Linked DNA regions of Homo sapiens: all the other regions are linked to region 1. Evidence: promoter capture Hi-C in 16 types of primary human blood cells and fetal thymus (Javierre and others, 2016). All regions are on one chromosome and are shown on one strand. The core of a region is centred on a gene start or on the middle of the fragment in contact, and the rest is flanking DNA. Distances in the headings are between cores, read along the strand shown. Region 1 holds the start of MMP13 (matrix metallopeptidase 13). Region 2 overlaps MMP10 (matrix metallopeptidase 10). Region 3 has its middle 26 kb from the start of MMP8.

Region 1 (4,801 bases), core at 2,302-4,801:
GTTGTTTTCTCTTAGAGTATTTGGTTAAATCTGGCCAAGGTGGACATTCAGTAACCACTCTTTTTCAACCAAACACACAAAAAAATAAAATTCTTTAGGAGGGGAGCCCAGGAAATTAGGACTTGACTTTCAGATGTTATACTCCAGTAAGAACCAAAAATAATTTATTTTACTTCTTGTAAATTCTTTTAGTAACTTTTGTGGATCAACCCAGTATGAGTATGGCATCTCTGAAGAGCATATCATTCAAATGTTAAAAGTAAATGACCTCCTAAGTTACTCAACCTTTGCTTTGTAGCCACAGCATGTAAAATGAGCTCTTCTTTGTTTTGTTCCACACCTGTGGATGATGCCATGACTGCACAAAAGTAGTGTTTAAATTCAAATTTAGAAGAAATCTAGCTTTCCTTTTTTTTTTTTTTTAATGGCGCCTCCCTGTCTGCCCTAGGCTGTCCTCAAACTTCACCCCTGGGCTCAAGCAATCCTCCAACCTCAGCCTCCTGAGTAGCTGGGACTATAGACATGCCCTATGCCCAGCTAGTTCTCCTTTTTAAGACCATGTAAGCCCAGCTCATGAGGTTATGAAAAAAAAAGAGAAATCGGAAGGTAGAACTAAGCAACCATCAGAGAGTGTTTACAAAAAATTATTACTTCGTGCACTTGCAGAGTCAAATCACTTACATTTTAGAAAAATAAACACACCGCTAAGTGTCATCGACAATGAGTTTTTACTATACTCTAAACTGAAGCCAAAATCTTGATCTTAATCGTTCTTTTACTTAAAGATTTTTCATAATTTTAATCTAACTCAAATGGCCAATTGTTCATGTTATTCCTAGTCTGGGACCCCTCTGTGATTTAGTATCTGGCTGTTCATAGACATTTTTCGTTCCTGTTTGGGTGACGTTTTGAACTTGAAAACTGATGATGACCTATGTTTTAAAAAGTCCCATATTGCTAATGTCTGAATCAGCAGTAAATACATAATTCTAATTTAGTCCAGTTTTGTTTGTTCATTCTACAGGTTTTCAAATTTCCCAGTGATTTGGTAGACTTGTTAGAACCATTTTTAAATACCAGCTCAGCCCTATTGTGTTAAAGATGACATCTGAAACCACAAATCATTTCACAGTGGTAACCAGAAGGCTTGACTTTAACAGTTAACAACCTGATATAAGGACTTGCGTTGACAAGCAGTTTGCCAACACATTATGATGTGATGACACATCCCTATCACCATCTAAAAACACTTTTCCCTGAACAATATTCTATAAACGAGCAGTCTGATTATTTTCTTAATGAATTAATGTATTTTAATCTTTGGAGGAATTTTTATTTATTTCTACTTAAGAAAACTACAGAACATATAATAATATGTTCTCATTAACCTTTCTGTGTTTTTTCTTTTGCGCTGATTATGTTCTTAAATGGAATGAGAAACTAGTAAAATACTAAAGTTGTTTGATAATAAACTTTATTTTTAAAGTTGAAAAATAGTGGCATGTATTTATTTTCATTTGTTATTAAAAATGTTTTTTTTAATGGGGGAGGTAATATTGTAATGATCCTCAGAAAAAGGCCCTCATTTTAGCCTTCATTTCATTTCCATAGACACTAGCATGGTATCCTATATGGTTGATGCTCAATTAATATATTCATTAAATTGATAGATAAAAAAGCTTCTTTTCTTCTAGTTTGAAGTAGTAACATTTCTACAAATATGTGAAAATCTATAAGAACAGTTAGCCTATTTGATTCTTTTTCTCCACTTTCAAATGTTTAATAAAATGTTATTTGTTTTCCAGCTTCTTAAGCACTTCTTATCTAATGAGATTTTAATATATTATGAAAATTTATTTGTAAAAACAAATGCTTTCTAATAAACTAACTTTTATAAGCTTAGTCGATGAATCAAACTTTTTTGGATAATTTTTCACTTAATCTCAAAATTAAATATTATGATACATGGAAGCAACTTAAAATAAATTATTGCTTTGCATTCCTGATTGAGCACCAATCTAATCTTGAACTCACTGGAAACAATCTATTTGAAAGGGTATATTTGGCTGTATTTTGTTTGGATAAAGGCATATAGTAAATTTCCCTCAAATGATCACATACATGTTGTAGGCTTTTCTGATTTTTCTCTAAGGCACTGGCTACTCTAGATTATAGGATTTTACTCATATGTTAGGATACCCATTTCGTACTCACCCTAAAGCTGTATTCATGCTCCTTCTCTTTGTCTTACTATGTTCCTGACCTGAGCAGCATTTTCTTTCTGACTCTTAGTCACTCAAATTAACCTGCATTTCCAATCATTTATTTAAAGAAGTCCAATAAATCCAAAGATCATGGCCTATATTGCTCTACCCATTTACTTCTGCAGGGGACCAAAGATGGCACTTTGATTTCACGGTACTGAATGTGTGATGTTCTGAAAGGAATAATAGGGTAGAGGCCCCTAGGACTATTTTCCTGATGGTTGGACCAAGATTACTTCTATTATTCAAACTTAAAAATTGAGAAACTTGAAATTGGCCTACTGCAGCCCTAGTTTTCTTGGGCACTCCCTGAGGTGTAGGAACCAAACAGCTCAGCTTTTAAGAAAATATCTGAGAATGGAAAGGGTGGAGGTCATAATTAGACAGGGACGGTGGTCAAGAACATTGAGTTTTGAGTTATTGGCCTAGGTTCAAATCCTGGTATCATTTATAAACTATATGACCGTATACAAGTATTTAACTTCTCAGTGTATCAGATTATTCATATGTAAAATGGAAAACAAGCTTTCTGACAGCACCTATGTGGCTGTTGTAAGGATTAAATGAGATAATGCCTTTTAAACCTAGAATGCAGTAATCCCTGTTTGTGCTAGCCATTACAGTTGTTCCGTTCCAATGTAATTCTTCTACCTCTGTCTGAATCTGTAGGGAATTTATGCAGGACTCCATATTTGTCGAGAGGTCATGCCAGTGTGTTTAAATTCCAACCATGGGGCTCAATCCTGCGGTTGTGCCGTAGCACCTCCAAGTCATCAAGCTTGGTTTTGGTCCAATATCGTGAACTTCAGGTAGACACAAGACATCTCTCTGTAGTTATTCTAGAGAAAATGCAGTTTATAATTTACCAGGCAGTAGTAAACATTCTAGAATCAGTACTAAGTTTCTCTTTATGGAAGTAAACATGCCATCTTGATACACTTATTATTCGAAGAAGCAAAAGTAGATACGTTCTTACAGAAGGCAAAAAAAAAAAAATTTTGCTAAGTGAAGTAAAAAATGTACTACTCTCTGCTTCTTCCCACAGTATCCATAAATATGCTGAGGCCGTTTATTTTGCCAGATGGGTTTTGAGACCCTGCTGAAACAAGAGATGCTCTCATTTATATTTCCCTCAAATTCTACCACAAACCACACTCGGGAGGGAAAAGAAAAAGTCGCCACGTAAGCATGTTTACCTTCAAGTGACTGGGAAGTGGAAACCTATCCATAAGTGATGACTCACCATTGCAGGCCTATAAAAGTAAAGGTAATCTCTGCGGAAAGACAACAGTCCCCAGGCATCACCATTCAAGATGCATCCAGGGGTCCTGGCTGCCTTCCTCTTCTTGAGCTGGACTCATTGTCGGGCCCTGCCCCTTCCCAGTGGTGGTGATGAAGATGATTTGTCTGAGGAAGACCTCCAGTTTGCAGAGGTAGAGTATCTTGCCAATCCTGATGATGCGGTTGGTACATCTCAGAAATGTCCTTCTCTTTTAAACGCAGTTCATTTTGGTGTCTTTTCTAGCGCTACCTGAGATCATACTACCATCCTACAAATCTCGCGGGAATCCTGAAGGAGAATGCAGCAAGCTCCATGACTGAGAGGCTCCGAGAAATGCAGTCTTTCTTCGGCTTAGAGGTGACTGGCAAACTTGACGATAACACCTTAGATGTCATGAAAAAGCCAAGATGCGGGGTTCCTGATGTGGGTGAATACAATGTTTTCCCTCGAACTCTTAAATGGTCCAAAATGAATTTAACCTACAGGTAAATCATAGGCTATCTTTCTTTCATATTTGTTAGCCTTTTCTTGTAGTATTAAATGTCTAATATTAAGTAGGCCTTATTATTTAATTGGCAGTTAAATTCCAGAATAGCTTTAATATGGTTGCCGAGAATACCTCATAACATCTATTATTGTTACATTAACTCAGCATTATTTTTTAGTGGGCATCTCAAAGTATTTCTTTTAGAGATGAAATCAAAAGAGAAATAAAAGTAGGTTAAAGAAAATTTGCAAACATAGTACATTAGGTGTATTTATTACAACAGTGCTCAAGATGAAGAGTTCCACTCTTTCTAGAAACTTTACAGAGCTATTTCATTTATTTGAGCTTTATCAATGTAATCTAAACTTTTAGCATGCAAAATAAATTATATTAAACATTGGAATATTTTAAATTTAAGATGCCACATGGTCAGATATTTGGAGATACTCAAATGTGGCTGAATTTTTGACTTTTTATTCTTGTATGGCATCATAATTAATACATTATTTGAAACAATAAACCTCTAGTAGAACTTTCAAAGAAATTATTGCATTTTGAATTGAAAAGCAATATACCAAGAAAATGTATTCTAAAATAGCTGTCACTTTCCAAAAAGTTCATTGAAACTTTCTCTGTTAAATAGAATTGTGAATTACACCCCTGATATGACTCATTCTGAAGTCGAAAAGGCATTCAAAAAAGCCTTCAAAGTTTGGTCCGATGTAACTCCTCTGAATTTTACCAGACTTCACGATGGCATTGCTGACA
Region 2 (4,202 bases), core at 300-2,799, 180 kb after region 1:
AGGATGGCCTGTACAGCTGGCATATGTTCTGTATGTGTATTTATGGAAGAAAGAGCTGGTGAATTCTGAACATTTATGATTTTCATACAGGCACCAATTTATTCCTCGTTGCTGCTCATGAACTTGGCCACTCCCTGGGGCTCTTTCACTCAGCCAACACTGAAGCTTTGATGTACCCACTCTACAACTCATTCACAGAGCTCGCCCAGTTCCGCCTTTCGCAAGATGATGTGAATGGCATTCAGTCTCTCTACGGTGAGTGATGCTGGAAAAATTAGGCATTGCAGATCTACAATGACAGTCCTCCAGAAAGCTTTCCAGTGCTACCTAAAGTATTTCTGATTTGGCCTGAAGCACTTTGAGAATGTTTGAAAGGCACACAAATTGACAGATGCATCACATTTTTTTTTAATGTTTGCATCCCCAAATCTGTTTCCTTTAGGACCTCCCCCTGCCTCTACTGAGGAACCCCTGGTGCCCACAAAATCTGTTCCTTCGGGATCTGAGATGCCAGCCAAGTGTGATCCTGCTTTGTCCTTCGATGCCATCAGCACTCTGAGGGGAGAATATCTGTTCTTTAAAGACAGGTCAGACCAGAAAATTATATTTTCCTATCTATTCTTTTGATGTACAGTGCTTAGAAAGAAAAACAGAAACTTGACAGAGCTTTTTTTTTAATTTTAGGTTCAGGGGTACATGTGCAGGTTTGTTATATAGATAAACTCGTGTCACAGGGGTTTGTTGTACAGATAATTTTGTCACCCCAGTACTAATCCTAGTACCCAGTAGTTACTTTTTCTGCTTGACAGAGATTTTTTAAAATATAAAATTTCCTCTACATTTTAAAATCATTCAGATCTAGTTCTTGCTGAATTTTTAACATCTTCTTAGAATTGTCCAGATCATTTTTTACAGACTTATAAGGGATGATTCTTGGTCCCTAGACTGTAAGTTTGATTAAGGCAGGGAGTTATATCTGTTTCGTTCATTTTTTTAAAATATCATATATCATGGAACTTCTTCAGAAAGCACTGGTGGATCCTTAGAAGCAGGGTGGTATCTTTCCATTTACTAATATATGCTACTATTTAAATTAATTACTTTTGGAAAAAAGTGATATGTGCTTGTGGCACAATATTTAAACACTACCAAAAGATACGGAGTTAAAAAATCTCTCTCCAGTCTTTGGCCTACCGTCCTCCAGCTCCCTTCATATGTGCAACCACTGCTACCAATTTCCTTTGACTCTTTACAAAAATGTTCTACTCATATACAAGCATCAATATACACATAATATTTTTTAAAATATTAGGACATAATATGCACACTGTTTATGGACTTTTAGAATGGAACCAAGCTAAATAATTTTACTGGAACCAGTCACAAGTCCTGCCATCGATTTCATTACCCTGGAATCACATGCAGGAGGATGGTTTAATACAGACTTCTATGAATGGGTGAATTAGCATGGATTTAAAAAAAAAGAATTTTTTTTTCACATATCTAAAAGAGAAAGACAATTGCAAGTAATTTTATGTATTACAGATATTTTTGGCGAAGATCCCACTGGAACCCTGAACCTGAATTTCATTTGATTTCTGCATTTTGGCCCTCTCTTCCATCATATTTGGATGCTGCATATGAAGTTAACAGCAGGGACACCGTTTTTATTTTTAAAGGTGAGTACTATATAAGAATTTCAACTTGCTGGAATAAATCCTATTGCAAAAATTTTATTGACATGAGTTTTATCCATTATATTAAAGTTTAGATTACTGAAAGACCTTGTGCTAACACTTAAATAAAATTTGTACAAAGAACATTATAAACTTTATTTTAGAGACCTCTTAAGAAAATAGGTGGCATTCCATATTCATAAAAAATGCAAGATAGTAAAAATGTCAATTTATCTATAGATACAAGACATTTTCATTTCAAATACCAAATGCCAAAAGATTTTTCATGGAACTTGACAAATTAGTTTTACAATTTATATGGCAGAGGAAAGGCCAAGAATAGCCAGGATGCTCCTGGTGAACCCATCTTATTAGATGAGGAGAAAAGCCCTGTGTTATAAAACTTTAATCGGTAAGATGTAGTATCAGTGCAGGGAGAGATAAATTAACTAATGGAGATATTCAGGTATAGAGGCTTCTTTATCAGACTTTTAAACTACTGTTTCAATTTGTTTTATTGGTAATATGCTATTAGAGTTTCTATTACTTCTTGAGTCAGTTTTGTTAACATGTTTTTCTAAAAATTTGCCAATTTTGTCTGTTTTCAAATCCATCAGAAAAAGTTTTTGGAAAATTATTTTGTTGTAATTTGAATTATTGCTGAAGTTTTGTTTTCTTTTTCATTCTTAATACTGAATCCTTTTGCCTTTCTCTTTTTTCTTCATCAATCTCATAATATATGTAATAATTTTACTGATCTTTTCAAAGGACTGACTTTTGGCTTTATTTACTCTCTATATTATATTTTGATTTCCCGTTTAATTAGTTTCTGTTCATATCTTTATTGTTGCCTTAATTTTTGTTTACTTTGAATTGATCCTGTTATTATTGTTATAGCTTAAGTTTGATACTTACCTTATTAACTTGTAACTTTTTTCTTTTCTAATACAAGCATTTATACCTATAAATAACCATTTCTTCTGTTTCATCCAGCAAATTTCGATATGCAGTATTTTCATTTTGTTCAATTTTAATTCTTTAATTTCTCATTTTTATTTTTTCCCTAGACTCATAGGTGATAATGGAATATTTTTAAATGTCAAGCTTTATGGAGATTTTAAAAATATTTATTTCTGGCAATCTCACTTATGTGAAGATCAAATGAATGTGAAATTGCAGTAGAAATTGTAAAGGATTACATAACTCTAACGTATTGTTATCAAGTAATGTATCTCACATTTACATATCACTTGCACTGTGTCAGACGCCATTCTCATTGGTGGAGGTCAGGACTGAAAAGGGCTCATATTCTAGAAGGGGCAGCAGAGATGAAGCCTTTGGCAGCCTACATATGACAAGTGCTGGGACTGAGAGAAGGAAGGGTGCCATGGGAGCACCTGACTCATACCCAGGACTCAGCAAAGATCCCTTAGGGGAGGTGATGTTAGGATGGGTCTTAAAGTTCTCTATTGTTGTGCAGAGATGGGCTGGGTGTACAGAAAGTAGAAAGGTCTTTAAGAAAGAAGAAATTGTTTTTACCAAGTAAGAGCATATCTGGAACTGCTCAGACAGATACAAGTCATTCGGTTCAGACGAAGCAAGAGAGATAAACAACAGATGGACATTTTAGATTAGTGAATCTGGCAGTGAGTGCGAAGAAGGAATTCAGGCTTGGGGTCTGGGAGAGTGATGTAACAAAGTAAATGCAGAGAGATTGATGGGATTTTATTGTCCTAACTCACTAGAATTTGAATGAATTCCGATAGTGTTCACAAGAAGCACAGATTGGAATTGGTGACTGTGAAATATCTCAAAGGAAGTGTCCAATAAGCAACTGATCTATTGGTATGAAACTTAAGAGAGAGAGGTCTAGGTGAGAAATTCAGGTTAAAAGTTTACCAACAATTATAAGAAATAACTAAAACTGATCTATAAATAAACTATAACATATAGATACAAATATATAAGACACAGAAAGGGCAGTGAATCAGAGTTATCTACTCATTTATTCATTCATTCATTCACTCGCTCATTCAGGGAGTATTTATTAAGGACTGGCTGTGAACTGGACATTATTAGGTTGGAATTAAAACCAAGCCTTCCTCTTTACCACAACAATGCACTATAATTATTTTTAAAATCAATGGCTTCAAGTAAAATGTCTTGGATTTATTTTTTCAATAGGAAATGAGTTCTGGGCCATCAGAGGAAATGAGGTACAAGCAGGTTATCCAAGAGGCATCCATACCCTGGGTTTTCCTCCAACCATAAGGAAAATTGATGCAGCTGTTTCTGACAAGGAAAAGAAGAAAACATACTTCTTTGCAGCGGACAAATACTGGAGGTGAGATGCAAGAGAAATGACTTTCTATGAAGCCTGATTAAGAAAATTATTTTCTTTCTTTAAGGATATTTCCCTACCCTACACCCACCCTCTAACTTTCTCTAACTTCAAAATTTATGATTATGAGGAAGACAGCTTATTGTTCTACCTTCCGGATACAAAGGCCTCTCAGAATGGTGATC
Region 3 (4,182 bases), core at 1,158-3,657, 210 kb after region 1:
CAAAATTAGCTGGGCATGGTGGCGTGTGACTGTGGTCCCAGCTACTCAACTTGGGAGGCTGAGGCACGAAAATCACTTGAACCAGGAGGCAGACGTTGCAGTGAGCCAAGATCGCACCACTGCACTCCAGCCTAGGGGACAGAGTGAGACTCTGTCTCAAGAAAATTTAAAAAAAAATTAAAAACTGGTTTAAATAAGCAAAGAATCTTGAAGCATACTAGCATAAGGTGTATATCTTGCCAATAAGGAGGATTTTTAAAAATATGAAGTTTCAAACTGCCTTTCTATGAGGTGGTAACTTCTATTTGTGCAGAGATACTCTGGCTTCATGATGTAAGATGAACTGACATTCTGGAGTAACCAAATGAACAAATACAGAATCCTTTGTCTGGAGTCAGCCTGGTCGAAAGCTCAGATATGTCTTCTGCAGAAGGTGTCCATCTGCCTCCCACCCTTGTAGTCCTGCAGGGTGCCCACCACACACACACACACCTGTGTAGCTTGAGAAGTAACCCAATTATACTAAGAAGAAAGGTCTTCTCGAGTGCACCTTACATTGGAATAAAACTCTCCATCCACTTCTCGTGAAGCAAATGTCTGGAGGAAATTCTGTCTAATATCTACTAGACTCCAGGCAAATCTTTTCATGGCCGATTTTTTGTTGACAGGCAGTAAGCACTGGGTCGTTCAGGAGGATCAACTGCTGAGTGGCTACCCCAGGGACGTCTACAGCTCCTTTGTCTTCCCTGAAAGGGTGAAGAAAATTGATGCTGCCATTTATGAGAAGGACACTGGAAAGACACATTTCTTTGTTGCCAATGAGTATTGGAGGTAAAGACCTACCCTCAGAAAACTTGGGAAATCAGATCACTCTGGTGGAAGGAGAGTTGCCTTTTAAAATTTTTCTCAAATTTCACTGAAACTTTCCTTTTTTCTGAGAATGAATGCAGCCAGGCCCACAGCCATTCAGTCCCCTACCTGTTATCACACTGCTGCCTAGCAAGGCAAGGAACTTGTTGGCTTGCATTTGAAAAGGAGATAAAGAGCAGAACACACAAAGGGGACTAGAGGCATCCAAAAAGGAGAAAATGAAGCATTTCTCCTTGATAGGACAGAACATGGAGCCCAAGGGAAAATTTGAATCAGATTTTTATGGTTGAGAATAACTTAGAGTTTGTCTAGTTTGCCCCACTCTCCCTCCCAGTTAAAATTTCTTAATAGTTTCATGCCAACAATGTACCCACCCATAATTTTTAAAAGCAGCCATCGGGGTTTTGCAAAATTGAGGCACAGACAGTACCTACCTCTCAGATTTGTTGTGAGAATTAAATGAATCTTCATATGAAAAGCACTTAGGACAGTGATTAGTACATGGAAAGTTCTACATGAAAGTTAAGTGTTTTTTATTGTTTTTATATTAACCACAATGTGATATTTTTAGTTATTTTTTGTTACCAGGTATGATGAAAATATGCAGTCCGTGGATGCAGGTTATCCCAAAATCATTGATGACCTCCCCGGAATTAGTAAAAAAAATTGACCTGTTTTGAAAAATAAAGGTAAAGACCATTCAATTTCCTCATTTCACTATCATAAAATTACACATTTAGTGTTACATAGATAAGACAGTAAACTGTGTACACAAAAATATGATATTTTCAAGAGTTCATGTGAAAAATCATTATCTAGTTTCTTTTATTTCTAGGTTTTTTCTATTTCTTTTGTAGAAGAAGGCAGTATGAATGTAATCCTAAAATGAAGCAAATTTTGACTCTCCTGAAAGCTAACATCTGGTTCAAGTGCAGAAATAACTGATGGTTGACTATCACCAAACAGAAAATAAAAAGTATTTTTAATGAGCCCAAAATATGTTCTTTTCTAAGAAACCAGGTATTTCAGTATTTTATTTCAGTCTCTTGGTAACACAAGGCAGAGACATAGAAATACAATCTTATTTAACTTCAATCTGAACATATTCTATGTTAGCTAGAATATATTGCTTCATGAACTTATATAAGTTAGTTTTAAGCAAGTACTAAGGGTTGTCAATCAAGGTCATCCTTAGGTTTTCACAGAAAAAAGCTTTTTACTAGAGTCCAAGACTCTGACTTTAACCTGAGCAGCTGCACATATGGGATGCATATCTCAATCCACCCAAGACAATAACAGCCCTCAGTTTCAACAAAGAAAAAACAGCGTAAAACTGTATCATCCTTACATGTACATGGCAACACTGTCACATATTAAAGAAAACAGACACTTAAACTTCGTATAAAAAATAAAGTGGCTGGGCACAGTGCCTCACGCCTGTAATCCCAGCACTTTGGGAAGCTGAGGCAGATAGATCACTTGAGGTCAGGAGTTCAAGACCAGCCTGGCCAAAATGATGAAACCCCATCTCTACTAACAAAAAATACACAAATTAGCCGGGTGTGGTGGCAGGCACCTGTAATCCCAGCTACTTGGGAGGCTGAGTCACAAGAATCACTTGAACCCAGGAGGTGAAGGTTGTAGTGAACCAAGATCGCGCCACTGCACTCCAGCCTGGGCAGTAGAGTGAGATTTAGTATATATATTTTAAAAAGGTAACTTTTATCAACATATAATATGAATACAGAAAAGCCATGTATCATAAGTATATAGCTGATGACTCTTCACAACACAACCAAGTAACCAGCACACAAAAGAAAATTGCCAGTATCCCCAAATCCCTTCTCCAGGTACTAAGCTTTCTAAGGGTAACTACTATCCTAACTTCTAATCTAATACCATAGATTAGCTTTATCTCTTTCAGTACTTAAAATAAATGGAATTATACATTATATACCTTAGTATCTGACTTCTGTCACTCAACATTATATTTATGAGATTCATCAATATATTTTTATGTAATTTTTGATCATTTATTCTCTTTGCTGTAGAGTTTCCATTGAGTGAATAATTTCCCACAATTTATCTCTCCAGTCTATGTTGAAGGACATATAAGTAGTTTCCAATTTGGGGCTATTACAAATAGTCTTCAGGGGAAGCAGAGCAAGATAGTTGAATAGAAGCTTCCAATAGTTGTCCTCACACCCCCGCAAGAACACAAAATTGAACAACTATTCACACAAAAAAGCAACTCCATAAGAACCCAAAATCGGGTGAGCAATCACACTACCTGGTTTTAACATCATATTAAGGAAAGAGGCACTGAAAAGGGTAGGAAAGACAGTCTTGAATGACCTACACCAGCCCTCTCCTATCCCCCTGCAGTGATCATATGGCATGAAGAGAGAATCTGCACTAGGGGAAGAGGGAGTGTACAGTGATTGTGAGACTTTGCATTGGAACTTAGTGTTGCCCTGTCATTAGTGTTGCAACACCAGGCAGAATTCAGTCAGCTCTTATGGAGGAAGAGAGAGAGAGAGAGAGAGAGAGACTCAATTTGGTGGGTAGGGGGGTGGGGGGGAAGTCAGGAAAGAGAAGAAGAGTCTCTGCCTGGTCATCCAGGGAATTCCTCTAGATCTTACCTAAGACTACCAAGCTGGTACATCTGTGGGTCTACAAGAGCCACAGGTTTACTGGGCTTGGGGTGCCCCCTAAAGCACATATGGCTGCTGTGACCAAAGACTTAGATCATAACAACCAAGTTGCTTGGAATACCTGGAAAGCCTTCCCAAAAAGGACAGGTACAAACAAGTCCAGACTAAAAAGACTATGATAAATACCTAACTCTTCAATGCCCAGACACTGATGAACATCTGTAAGCATCAGGATCACCCAGAAAAACACTACTTCACCAAACAAACTAAATAAGGCACCACAGACCAATCCTGGAGAGACAGAGATATGTGACCTTTCAGACAAAGAATTTAAAATTGCTCTTTTGAGGAAGCTCATCAAAATCCAGGATAACATGGAGAAGGAATTCAGAATCCTATCAAATAAATTTAACAAAGACATTGAAATAATTACGTGGAATCAAGCAAACATTCTGAAACTAAAAAATGCAATTGACATGCTGAAGAATGCATCAGAGTCTCTTAACAGCACAATTGATCAAGCTGAAGAAATAGTGAGTTTGAAGACAAGCTATTTGAAAATACACAGTCAGAGGAGACAAAAGAGAAAAGCATACGTACAAGATCTAGAAAATAACCTCAAAAGGGTAAATGAAAGAGTTATTGACTGTAAAGAGAA

What was found. Contacts are between HindIII fragments. The CHiCAGO score rates a contact against its expected background, and 5 or more counts as called.
Region 2: a fragment that was not itself captured here is called in contact with the fragment with the promoter of MMP13 in region 1 in 1 of 17 cell types (monocytes); the score reaches 5.1 in monocytes.
Region 3: a fragment that was not itself captured here is called in contact with the fragment with the promoter of MMP13 in region 1 in 1 of 17 cell types (endothelial precursors); the score reaches 5.3 in endothelial precursors.

The regions. Positions count from the first base shown.
Region 1 is chr11:102,954,482-102,959,282 of GRCh38, reverse strand. It overlaps MMP13 (matrix metallopeptidase 13), which reads left to right and starts at 3,551. Exons shown (of 10, transcript NM_002427.4): 1 at 3,551-3,697; 2 at 3,790-4,031; 3 at 4,677-4,801. The coding sequence starts at 3,578. RefSeq lists an enhancer at 2,919-4,118. The HindIII fragment of the contact is 7,221 bases long and covers 3,045-4,801 here.
Region 2 is chr11:102,772,665-102,776,866 of GRCh38, reverse strand. MMP10 (matrix metallopeptidase 10) reads left to right here. Exons shown (of 10, transcript NM_002425.3): 5 at 91-255; 6 at 443-587; 7 at 1,546-1,679; 8 at 3,861-4,020. Among named protein-coding and RNA genes, the nearest start is that of MMP10, 5.9 kb to the left of the region's middle. The HindIII fragment of the contact is 2,467 bases long and covers 316-2,782 here.
Region 3 is chr11:102,748,700-102,752,881 of GRCh38, reverse strand. No RefSeq gene overlaps it. Among named protein-coding and RNA genes, the nearest start is that of MMP8, 26 kb to the right of the region's middle. RefSeq lists an enhancer at 1-409. The HindIII fragment of the contact is 646 bases long and covers 2,085-2,730 here.